4 separate regions of the Homo sapiens genome follow, and regions 2, 3 and 4 are each linked to region 1. The links are contacts of gene promoters, found by promoter capture Hi-C in blood cells and fetal thymus (Javierre and others, 2016). All regions are on one chromosome and are shown on one strand. Each heading gives the region's core, a stretch centred on a gene start or on the middle of the fragment in contact. The rest is flanking DNA. Distances are from core to core; before and after follow the strand shown.

Region 1 (2,888 bases), core at 248-2,747:
GGAGCTGGAACAGAGATCGCCCAGGCTTCTTTCATTTCTGAGGTGGTGTGAATGTGACCTGGACAAGCAATCGGCTTGTGTTCCACTTTCCACTGTATTAGACAGGGCCCCCCATTTCATTCTGAACCCCCACAGTTGCTCTCTGAACCCCACGTTCAGTGAGAACATGGAATGCTACCGGCAGGGCCGGAAGTCACCACGCACTGAGCCTTGCGACCCCTGCGGCCCCATACCCCTCTCCTCCCACAGCTCTCTCTGCCTCATAGTCCATTTTCTCTGCCTCCGCTTTCTTTTGGCCAATTTCCTAACAGGGCTTTCCTTAGCTAAGCCCCTGGCCTGGTGCCTCTTACTTTTGTTATTAAGTGAGTATAAACGGCAAATTTCTTGAGCCTCCCTGGCCTTCCTTCGAAGAGACATTCCAACTCAAGTCCTCTCCTAGCCAAGTCAGAACTGCAGCCCCTTGGCAGCAGGCTGTTCGGGGAGGTCATAGCCCCGGGCTGGGCCCTGGCTTGTAGGTGAGCAGCTGGGACATCGGGGGAGGCCATGCCACATGCTGGGAAATTTCTATGCCTCTGGACACCATTTGCATCTTGAGCAAAACTGAAAGACAAGATGGATAAATAGAAAAGAAGAGACATCCTCCCAGGGGCTGAGACATAATGTTCTCTCTCCCGTCTTTCCAGGAAATGGCAAGTGCTCCTGGGAGCTACGAACTTTCTAGGACAAAGATGCCTCAGCAAGAGCAAGCGGGAAGAAGAGGAGCGGCAGGGGAGGCCTTTCCCAGCTGCCTTCCCTGTTCTTTCAGCTCGTGGCTTGGCTGGGGCGAGGCAGGGGCCCAGGGGAACACGCTGCTGGGCAGAAATAGCTTGCAACCACTCCCCAGGGTTATGGAGGTTATTTGTGGAGATGAAAGCAAAGGAGGGAAGGGAAAAGAATTTAACCTACACCCAGTTGCCCGTAGAGGGGCCTGAATCCCACCCTGCTGGACTAGCTCTTTAGTTTCTGCTTTCAGATTTGCTCAACCCAGAGTCCCTGCAACAGAAGGCCTTTGAAAGAAGGCAGATTCAGGGCTGTGATGAGAAACTGGCATGCGTTGGCAAGCAGACTCTTGGGACATGGCCTTTGTCCGAATCTCCCTCACTTACACGACTATACTGCAGACGACAGCTAACCCAAGGGAGCCTCAGAATGTCCCTCAACAATGCGGGTGTCCCTGGGCAGACTGCACCTGACCAGAGGTCAGGGTGAGGGCAGAAAAGCTCCACGGGACAGCATCGTGGCTGCGTCCTCGTGATGGGACCATGGGCAAGTCACCCAGTCTTTGTGGCCAGTGTCTGTCTTCCTAAGTCAAATAGGCCATGCCCATCTGCTCCAGCCATCATAGGAGGAGGACTGTTATGAAGATCAAATATGTGAACATTCTTTGACTGTGAGGTTGCGGTGCGGTTACTCACAGGGCCTAGCCCAGAAGCCAGCTGATGCTGTTGCATTGGATTAGTCATTTTGCTGGCCCGAACATAGCCACCTGTAAGCTGGAACTTCCTTACGGCAGCCTGTCACTTCCACGGGACCCACCAGCTTAAATGCCGGCAGCCCTGGGACTTCTGGCCTCACAATGGTTGAGGTAGGGCTGCTTACATTTCCCTTCTCTGTTTAGCGTGTGCCGGATAAGTCCCTAGTTCGGATACCGTCGGACGACCCACATCTCCATGTTGACAAATAACGTGGGAGTGGGCTAAAGCTGTACGACCCCTGATTTCAGATTCTAATTTTGATTCCATGCTGGCAGCTCTCTCCCCACTGCAGGGAGAAAGTGCTGGAGAACGTCGTTCCCGCCTTTGATAAGCTAATCTTACCCCCTTCTCAGCTAAGGGTCTGGGCGGTGGTGGGCACGCCCGGACTGACCCCCAGCTCCAAGGGCAACTACTATGCGTTCCTGGACTGGGCAGGAGCTGGAAGAGGCAGGGAGGAGGTGGGAAGCGGCTCATGCCTTGTCCAGGCTCCTCTCCTAAAGTATTGTCTTTCCGCTTGGAGCTGGAATTCTCTGCCTTTATTTTCTCGGAGCTGGGCCTCTGCAGGCTGCCCCTCGGTCATTCCCTCCCAGGAAGAACGGCCTTCTGGGGTGGGGGTTGCTGTCGGAGCTCAGAGAGGCTGGGGGCCCCCCTACTGCCTATTCTTCCTCCTTTGGGAACTCACAGTGCTAAAAACAAGCTTTCTGAGAACCATATTTTTCTGGGTTAAAGGTGAAAAATGCAGCGTTTCCTCCAAGTGGAAAGCCCTGGGCCTGCCAGCTCCAACTCCGGGCGCTTTTCCGAGCTCCTTCCTCCCACGCAGGGAGGGGGTAGCAGCTCCTGCAGGGCCAGGGGAGGAGGTGGGCAGGGAGGAAGGAGAGGGGGCAGCAGCAGGAAAGCGCCAGTGCCCGTGCCAGCAGGGCAGTCTGTGTGTGGACACCAGCCGGCCTGTTTGTGTTGGAGGGCCGGGAGAAGGGAGCAGGACTGGGTCAGGAAATGAAAGACAAATACCAGGGTGGGAGAGTGGCACGGCCTTCAGAGCGGCGGGCAGGCCGGGGCAGCTGCCTGGGCAGCCGCAGAAGGGGGACACAGAAGACCCCCACAGACCTTCCTGAGAGAAATCCTGAGGTGGGGCCTCCAGGAACATGCAGGGTTATGGGAGGCCATCTTAATAGGAAAAGCAAGGACATCCTCACCCCACACCCGGTCACCCTTGCTTCGAACATGTGGGAGGTTCCGGGGAATTTCCTCAGACCCTGATTGTGGGAGAAAAGCTTTTCAGGATCCCGTGCCCCACTCCATCCTTCCTCCCTAGGACAGGGACTGCTGTTAGCCTCTGAGCTCCCTGGCGACACCCCAAACCTTTCTCTTCAGCCA
Region 2 (2,791 bases), core at 244-2,743, 450 kb before region 1:
GAAAGTAAAAGTGAAGCCAAGATTTGAACTCAAGGTAGTTAGGGTCTGGTCATTCCATTATTCATCTTTAGAAAATGGATGGTCAATTGAAGGCTCAGCTTGCATGACAAGTTCAACAAAATTCTCATTTAAAAAAAATCTCAGCAATGGAAAAATAATGAAATCATTGCAATTTATTTTAAAATCTTAAAAAGGCACACGTTTTAATCATTGATTGATAAAAATATTATGAAAGTCCTATTAAGATGAGTACATCTTTTCGTTTGTAAATTGTTTTGTTGGATTTATGTAATACTCTGTATTCCACATAGAATCAAATTTTCTACTGATACAATTTTGTCATGGTATGAACTTCACAAGAATAGTACAACAAGAAGTAGTCAAAAGAGAATTTAAAACATTCATAAGCCACAAGAAATATCAGGCTTTAACTGATGAAGATATAGATGACCCAATTATAGCACATCCATGGAGACAAACAAGAAAGGGACTCACAGGTATTGATGTCATTCTGCAACTGAGTCCTAACAGCACATCTCATTTTTAAATCCAGACATAAAAAACATCTTTATCTCTCTACTCAATCACATTTTGTGAACGTGCTGCTTCAGCTTTCTGAATTTGAAAATACAACTATAGCATGTCTCATATGACTTCTATTTTTAATGTTTACTTTGAAACTTCCCTTTAATTCTTAAAGATAGCTTGAATATTTTAGCATAGCCCCTAATAAAAATAACTGAATTAAATTCAAGTATCTAATTAAGAGAGTTAGTAGCACTGCTACAAACCTAAATAACTTTTGTGATAACAAAAATCAATTTAAATACAAGATGTGATATAGAGTTGTTAGTTTCATAATCTAATGGTTTAATAGTCCAGATTCCATTTTAGAGTAATGATATAAAATCCAAATTACTTATCAGTAGGTTCCTTAACTTTACATGAATTATTTTTCTTCCAACTCTTCCAACTTTTCTTCCAACTCTCAGTTTGCCAAATCACAAACTTTATTTTAATCGAGAAAAACATCCTTTTTGAAAGGTGCAAATCAGTATTTTACCAGTCTACTATCATTGATAGGGTTTACTATATTTCAAAATACATATCCCAGTGCTGTCAAATTTTTGAGAAATTATGATTTCATTAAATTAGAGTTGGTTATGAAAACATAAATTCAAAGTCCATCACCTGAGTGCTACTTTAACCTCCAGACTTCTTTGTGCATGCTATTATGTTCTTGAAAGTAATTTAGCATATTTCCATATAACTCATTCATGTGAAACCATAGTCAAATACTTCATCATTCTGTAGTTAATAATCAAATTTAGTGAATCATATCCCTCCCTATTACATTTTACTTTCCTTTGAAATACTTTTAAAAATACTTCCTAGAAACTCTCTTTTTATAATTTTATTTAGAGTCAGGGAGTACATGTGCATGTTTGTTACATGGGTATATTGTGCAATGCTGAGGTTTGGAATATGAATGATCCCATCACCCAAACAGTGGGCATAGAACCCAACAGTTAGTTTTTCAACGCTTGCCCCCTCCCTTCCTTCCCCTTCTAGTAGTCCCCAGTGTCTATTGTTTCTATCTTTATTTTCATGAATACCCAATGTTCAGTTCCCACTTAAAAGTGAGAACATGCAGTATTGGATTTTCTGTTCCTGCATTAATTCGCTTAGGATAATGGCCTCCAGCTACATCCATGTTGCTGGGAGGAACATTATTTCATTATTTATTCCATGGTGTATATGTACCATATTTTCTTTGTCCAATCCATCATTGATGGGCACCTAGGTAGAGTCCATGTCTTTGCTATGGTGAATAGTGCTGTGATGAACATATGCGTGTTGGTAGAATGATTTATTTTCCTTTGAATATATACCCAGTAATGGGATTGCTGGGTGGAACAGTAGCTCTGTTTTGAGAAATCTCCAAACTGCTTTTTACGAAGGTTGAACTAATTTATATTCCCTCCAACAGTGTATAAGTGTTCCCTTTTCCCTGCAGCTTCCCCAGAATCTGTTGCTTTTTGACTTTTTAGTAATAGCCATTTTGACTTGTGTCCTCATTAGAAAAGGCAATAGATGCACAGAGACGCTCAAGAGAATACCCTGTGAGCAGACATAGATGACCATCTACTAGCCAAAGAGAGTGGCCTCTGAGAAACAACCTCAGCCAACAGCTTGATGTCAGATTTCTAGCCTCCATAATTATGAGACACTAAATTTCTCTTGTTAAAGTCCTTCAGTCTGTGGTACTGTGTTATTAAAGCCCTAGAAAACTGTTACAACCTATTAATACACATGGAATATATTCCCTGCATCATGGTTGAAATGAAACCAGAGTTTTATTATGTCAGGCTCCACTTGCATTTGAGATCTGAAGCACTGTGGAAAATGGCCTCCCTTAAGAAATATTATGAAGACATGTGAAGAAGGCTCCTGCCCTGATGGGGTTACAGGGATGAGTTCTGTGAGATGACACATTGCAAACAAATGCGTACAGTAGCTTAACCTTCCCCCTTTTTGTGTAACACCTCCTTCTGTGCAAAAACGTTCTTGTAAGAACATTGGCTTTTAATACTTACAGAAGGTCTAGCAGGACAGTGGTGCTGACTGCTACAGAAGCTACCTGGGGTAGCTAAAGAATAAAAACAGTAACAACATGCAAAGATTTTTAAAAATAGCCTTTCTGATTGGTGTGAGATGGTGTCTCATTGTGATTTTGATATGACTTTTTCTGATGATTGGTGATGTTGAGCATTTTTTAATGTTTTTTGGC
Region 3 (3,092 bases), core at 434-2,933, 370 kb before region 1:
TGGCAGCATTTTGTTACCAACTGATGGAATTTGAAGGTATCGGGGATTTTGTGAAGAAAGTGACTTCATCACCTAAGCAGTGGATAATGGTTTACAATTACCCTCATCGACAAGTTCTGTAGAATTCTGTTTTGTTGGCATATTATCACATTTGACTCTTTTTAAATGAGACAGGGTCTGTGTCACCCAGGCTGGAATGCAGTGGTGCAGTCTCGGCTCGCTGCAACCTCCGCCTCCTGGGCTCAAGCAATCCTCCCACCTCAGTCCTCCAAGCAGCTGGGACTACAGGCACGCGCCACCATGCTTGGCTAATTTTTGTATGTTTTATAGAGACAGGGTTTTGCCATGTTCTCCAGGCTGGTCTCGAACTCCTAGGCTCAAGTGATTTACCCACCTCAGACTCCCAGATTTCTGGGATTATAGATGTGAGCCACAGTGCCCAGCTGACATTGACATCTTAAAGATTCACTTTTAGGCCTTAACGCGTGCCTCTGTGATTATTATTGGTGGTGATATTGGCCTTATTTCTAAAAAAAAGTTATTGGAAATTAAAATTATTTTGTGGAAATAATTATTTTGTGGAAAGCTAAACAGGTCTTCCAAAAAAAAATTTAATCTGAAATTTATCATAAAGCTTGATTAATTAAAGGACATCTGTTACTGAACTGAACTGGGTCCATTTGCCCACTGTGCAATGGAAAGCCAAACACCAAAACACTCGGTTTTCATAGCATGAAAAATTTATTGCAAGGCTACCAAGCAAGGACACGGGTCTGGCTCAAATCTGTGTCCCCACCTGGCACTTGGGTCAGGTTTTATAGCCAGAGGGTAACAAGGCATGACCTGATTGCATCTTGCAATAAGGTGAGGCTGGGAGGCACCATCTGACTAGATCCTGCCATGAGGTGACACCAGGGCGCAATCTCATTGGATCCTGGATCCTGCCATGTGGTGTCCACTTCTTAATTTAGTGATCCAAGCATTTAGGTTCTGCCCATGGTTGCATTCTTAGTTCATCTGAGCCTCCTCAAGTTACATGACCTTCAACCTGGGGGTCCATGGCAACTAAAAAACAACTCACAGCTTCGCTATATAAATGGTGAACCATAAAGTTGAACCAGCTAATTAACACAGGAACAGAAAACCAAACACTGCATATTCTTATTAGTGGGAGCTAAACATTGAATACACATGGACACAAAGATGGAACAATAGACACCAAAGCCTACTGGAGGGAGGAGGGTGAGGATTGAAAAACTACCTATCAGGTGCTATGCTTATTACCTAGGTAATGAAATAATCTGTACACCAATCCCCTCCTTGACACACAACTTACCCACATAACAAACCTGCACATCTACCCCCTGAACCTAAAATAAAAATTGGAAGAAAAAAAAAAAGTTGAACCAGACTGGTCTGGTGCAGTTACACATCTAACACTTCTAAATATCCAAAAAAGTGGCACTGCAATGACAAAGCAAGATGTTGAGCGTAAGAAGACTATGTGGGACTTTCTCATTTTATCATTTTAGGAATTCCCTATAATTACTTAATGATGAATTGCTTTTCTTTCAAAATCTCTTAAGTGATGAATAATATTATCCACAATAATTCTACAGGAATTCCTTGATTAAACTAGATATTATCTGAAAATTGATTGATTGATTGATGGATGGATTTTGCACATTCCACCCTCTTCCAGATGTTGTAATTGTGCTCACACCTTCTTCCAGAAGTCATCAGAAACCAGACAATGAGGAGAACCTCCCTGGATCTTTTACTTTTTTTCCCTCAGGGACTTTAGGGAAAATATTGAATATTGATAGCTGCTTTTATTCTCTTGGCCTGTGGTTATGGCACTTACTAAATTTGAGTGCAGTTGTTAATGCTAAAGTTTAGAACATTAATACAGTGAGAGAGAAATACTTTGGAGAGAATTAGATGGGAACTTTCTGGATATTTGAAAACTATTGGCTTAAGGTTGATCCGAAATAAGTCTATAGTTGTGTTTATATTTAAACTGAATCTCTTACAGAAAACATATAGTTGAGACTTTTTTTTAGAAGTTGACTGACAATCTCTGCATTTTAATTTGATAGAGAGTGTTTAGTAGACTTATATTTAAGGCAGTTATTGATATGCTTGTGTTTAGCCTACCATTTTACTATAGGTTTTGTGTTTTGTTCTCTCTGGTTTTGTTTTTTTATTCTTCTTTTTCTTCTTTTTTTTCTGGACTATATAAATACTTTTTATCTTTTTATATTTCCATTTTAATTTTTTTAGAGTTGGGGTCTCACTCCATTGCCCAGGCTGGTCTCAAACTCCTGACCTTAAGCGATCCTTCCGCCTCAGCCTCCCAAGTAGCTGATATTACAAGCATGAGCCACCATATCTGCCTTTGAACGCTTTTTAAATTTCATTTTTATTTGCCTTTGTCTTTTTCTTATTTCTCTTTGCATGATGTCTTAATGTTTTCTCTATGGATTACAGTGTACATTCTTAAATTTCACTGTGTACTTGAAATAGTATTGTACCTTTTCACTTAATAGGTCCATTTAACCACACACCCCATCCTTTACACTATAGTTGTAAAGTGTATTACATCTACAGACAAGATAAAACCCACAATATAGTATGTATTTTAAAGAAATTAAGAGGAAAACTACTCTTTTATATTTATACACATATTTACCTTTAATGTTCTTAAATCCTTCCCAAAGATCTAAGCTTCTCTCTGGTAGCATTTCTGTAAGCCTAACAAACTTACTTTAGTATATTTTTTATTGGAAGTCTATTGGAGATACATAGTATTAGTCTTATTTTATTTGAAAATATCTTTATTTCACTTCGTCCTCAAGGAATATTTTTGTTGGATAGAATTCTATTTTCTTTCAACTATTTAAAGATACTGTTCTACATTTTACTGCCTTTCATTGCTTCTGATGAGAAGTCAGCCATTATTTGATTCTTCTTTCCTCTGTCAATATAATGTGTCATTTTTTCTCTGGTTTAAATATTTTCTCATTATCTTTGATTGTCAATAGTTTATCAACTATGTGCTTAGAAGTTTTAAAATTATTATTTACCCTGCC
Region 4 (2,760 bases), core at 90-2,589, 470 kb before region 1:
TTATGCAGACTGCTTTAACATGCTTTGTAAATTATTTGAGATGAAAGCTTATCATCTTTCAACAGAACTCTTAGAAGTGTTTAATAAGAAGATATTATTAAGTAAGTCTTGACGTTCTTCATCAATACACATTCTAGTAGGTAACAAGGTTGACCCTAATTAGTATGGGTTAGGTGTTTGAATGTAGGAAGCGTTTCAGCAGTCGTACTGTTGTGTGAAGAGGTCCCAACTCCCATCTTGAATTGTCGAGTTCCCCCACACACAGGTGAGGACCGTGCACAGGCTGACGCAGGATGTAAAGGCCATATATGCCAGTCCCATCCATCCACCACCCAAATATCCTGATTGATTTTTTTTAAGGAATTATTACTGTGATTTTAGGTGCAATTTTAACAATATTATGACTATTAGAAAAAGTAGAGCTTATTTAGAGAACTCAGATATTGACATGAAATCATGATATCATGATTTGCTTCAAAACAATGTGAGGAGAAAGCGAACAGGGGTGTGGATGGAGCTGAAACAGTCATGGGTAGTGACCATTGGGGCTAGTGATGATACATAGTGGTTTATTAAACTATTCTACTTTTGTGTATATATTTATTTGAAATTGTCCATTATTATTTTCCTGACACATGAATATGTATTATTTCAAAGTTTCTGAATAGCACTTCCTAAAGCCATGTTAAGATGGCATATAGTATTGAAAACTAAGGTTTTGAACGTGAATTTATTTGGTTATGACCATTGGAGACGAAATGTTTACAGCCAAGACTACAGGTCATAGTGATACTATGAAGACAAATGTTACAGAGCCCAGCATTTCCTATTGGCATGTTGTTATATTTCAGAAAGACTTCATTTGATTTAGGCGAGTGATTCTCAAAGTTTAGTGTGTAGATGAATGCCTGGGAACTGATGATAAAAAATAGATTCCAGGTCCATGCCCCAAAGATTCTGATTAAGAGGTTTGTAGTCATACCCAGGAATTTACATTTTTATTTAGTAAGTTCATGAGGTGATGTATCATCTAAACTGAGTAATTACTAGATTTTCATTTCATTGAGGGAGATAAAACACAATGTGATGATGAAATATTTTAATTAAGGTTTATTTCAATAGCAAAAATGACTTCAAGATTTTGCGTGAATTATTTTTTAAACAAAACTATATGAAAAATATGTACAAATCAGTCATCAATGTCATTGACATTTTTATGAACAAGTTTCAAATGAAAAATATCCCATCATAACAAAGGTACATAAATAAATAAATGCTGACAATACTGGCCCTAAAGTCTAACACAACTGTTAGACTAATCAGGATACCGCTTTCTACTACGTGAGGAGCACATAATCAATGTTTCCAGCAAAAGGCAAGTACTGGTTTGTGTAGGTTTATTTAGGCCAGTTGTTGACAGCCACATTATTTTGAGGTGTGGCTACTTGTTTCTCTTCATAGTGTTGAATGGCACAGTGCAAGGCATTGGGCACCAGAAGCATGAGCATAGGCAGAGCCATTTCCACCATGCTGACGGCAGGCAAGAAGAAGACAAAAATGAACCCCTTTCATGCTTGTTTAGAAATGTGACGGCTAGGCGCAGTGGCTCACGCCTGTAATCCCAGCACTTTGGGAGGCCAAGGCAGGCAGATCACCTGAGGTCAGGAGTTCGAGAACAGCCTGACCAACATGGTGAAACCCCATCTCTACTAAAGATACAAAATTACCTGGGTGTGGTGGTGCATGCCTGTAATCCCAGCTACTCAGGAGGCTGAGGCAGGAGAATTGCTTGACCCTGGGAGGCGGAGGTTGCAGTGAGCCAAGGCTGCACCATTGCACTCCAGCCTGGGCAACAAGAGCGAAATTTCATCTCAAAAAATAAATAAAAGTAAAATAAATGTGACAAATAATGTGACAAATAGGCTGGGCATGGTGGCTCACACCTGTAATCCCAGCCCTTGGGGAAGCTGAGGCAGGTGGATCACCTGCGGTCAGGAGTTTGAGACCAGCCTGGCCAATATGGTAAAACCCAATCTCTACTAAAAATATAAAAACTAGTCAGGTGTGGTAGCATGCACCTGGAGTCCTAGGTGCTCTGGAGGCTGGGGCAGGAGAACTGTTTGTTTGAATCTAGGAGGCGGAAGCTGCAGTGAGCTGAGATTGCACCAAAAGAACCAACATGTACTAAAATACCAGTTGTGTACCAGGTGCTTTGCATATATTGGTTTGGGATATATTGGTTCAGAGGAGACAAAGCTGCTCCAGAGCCAACACGGAATTTCCCACTTCATAGAACTTTTTAGTTATATCTAAATTATGTCCAACAATGAGGTTTCATTTTACTATTTTAGCATAATATGAATATAAATGTGACTGAGAGTTATCTTGACCCAGACAACCTACTGCAGAGTCCAAAGGATGCTAAGTGAAAACAGGTCATTTATATATAGTTCTTGAAAGAAAAGAGGAACCAAAAACTGTGACTGGAATTATGTGATATACGTTCCTTTTTATGTTCTGAGGTAGTCATCAAAAATGATGGCAGAATACTGATGTCTATGGAGCAGAAGTACAACTGACAGTAAGTCAGAAGTTACTTGCCAATCCCATTCTTTCACTGTAGTAAGCTTGACAGAAGAATTGTGGAAATCTTGTTGATTCATCACACATTTTATATATTAGATTAGAGCTATGCCCCCCGCCCCCACCCACAGAGTTAATTTTACTGTGTCAGTGAACTATAGATTCTTATCCGTTCAA

Evidence for each region. Contacts are between HindIII fragments. The CHiCAGO score rates a contact against its expected background, and 5 or more counts as called.
Region 2: a contact is called between a fragment that was not itself captured here and the fragment with the promoter of EGFLAM-AS5 in region 1, in 1 of 17 cell types (M0 macrophages). The highest score is 6.1, in M0 macrophages.
Region 3: a contact is called between a fragment that was not itself captured here and the fragment with the promoter of EGFLAM-AS5 in region 1, in 3 of 17 cell types (erythroblasts, endothelial precursors and M1 macrophages). The highest score is 6.8, in erythroblasts.
Region 4: a contact is called between a fragment that was not itself captured here and the fragment with the promoter of EGFLAM-AS5 in region 1, in 1 of 17 cell types (naive CD8 T cells). The highest score is 5.0, in naive CD8 T cells.

Annotation. Positions count from the first base shown.
Region 1 is chr5:38,466,975-38,469,862 of GRCh38, reverse strand. EGFLAM-AS5 (EGFLAM antisense RNA 5) reads left to right here and starts at 1,497. Exons shown (of 2, transcript NR_199676.1): 1 at 1,497-1,624. RefSeq lists enhancers at 159-1,030, 2,398-2,888. The HindIII fragment of the contact is 4,194 bases long and covers 1-2,213 here.
Region 2 is chr5:38,913,610-38,916,400 of GRCh38, reverse strand. All of the region lies in intron 9 of OSMR (oncostatin M receptor), which reads right to left. Among named protein-coding and RNA genes, the nearest start is that of OSMR, 69 kb to the right of the region's middle. The HindIII fragment of the contact is 6,135 bases long and covers 1-2,791 here.
Region 3 is chr5:38,839,369-38,842,460 of GRCh38, reverse strand. The region is part of intron 1 of OSMR-DT (OSMR divergent transcript); the gene reads left to right. Among named protein-coding and RNA genes, the nearest start is that of OSMR-DT, 4.9 kb to the left of the region's middle. The HindIII fragment of the contact is 2,093 bases long and covers 637-2,729 here.
Region 4 is chr5:38,933,966-38,936,725 of GRCh38, reverse strand. OSMR (oncostatin M receptor) reads right to left here. Exons shown (of 18, transcript NM_003999.3): 18 at 1,085-2,760. Among named protein-coding and RNA genes, the nearest start is that of OSMR, 89 kb to the right of the region's middle. The HindIII fragment of the contact is 2,580 bases long and covers 50-2,629 here.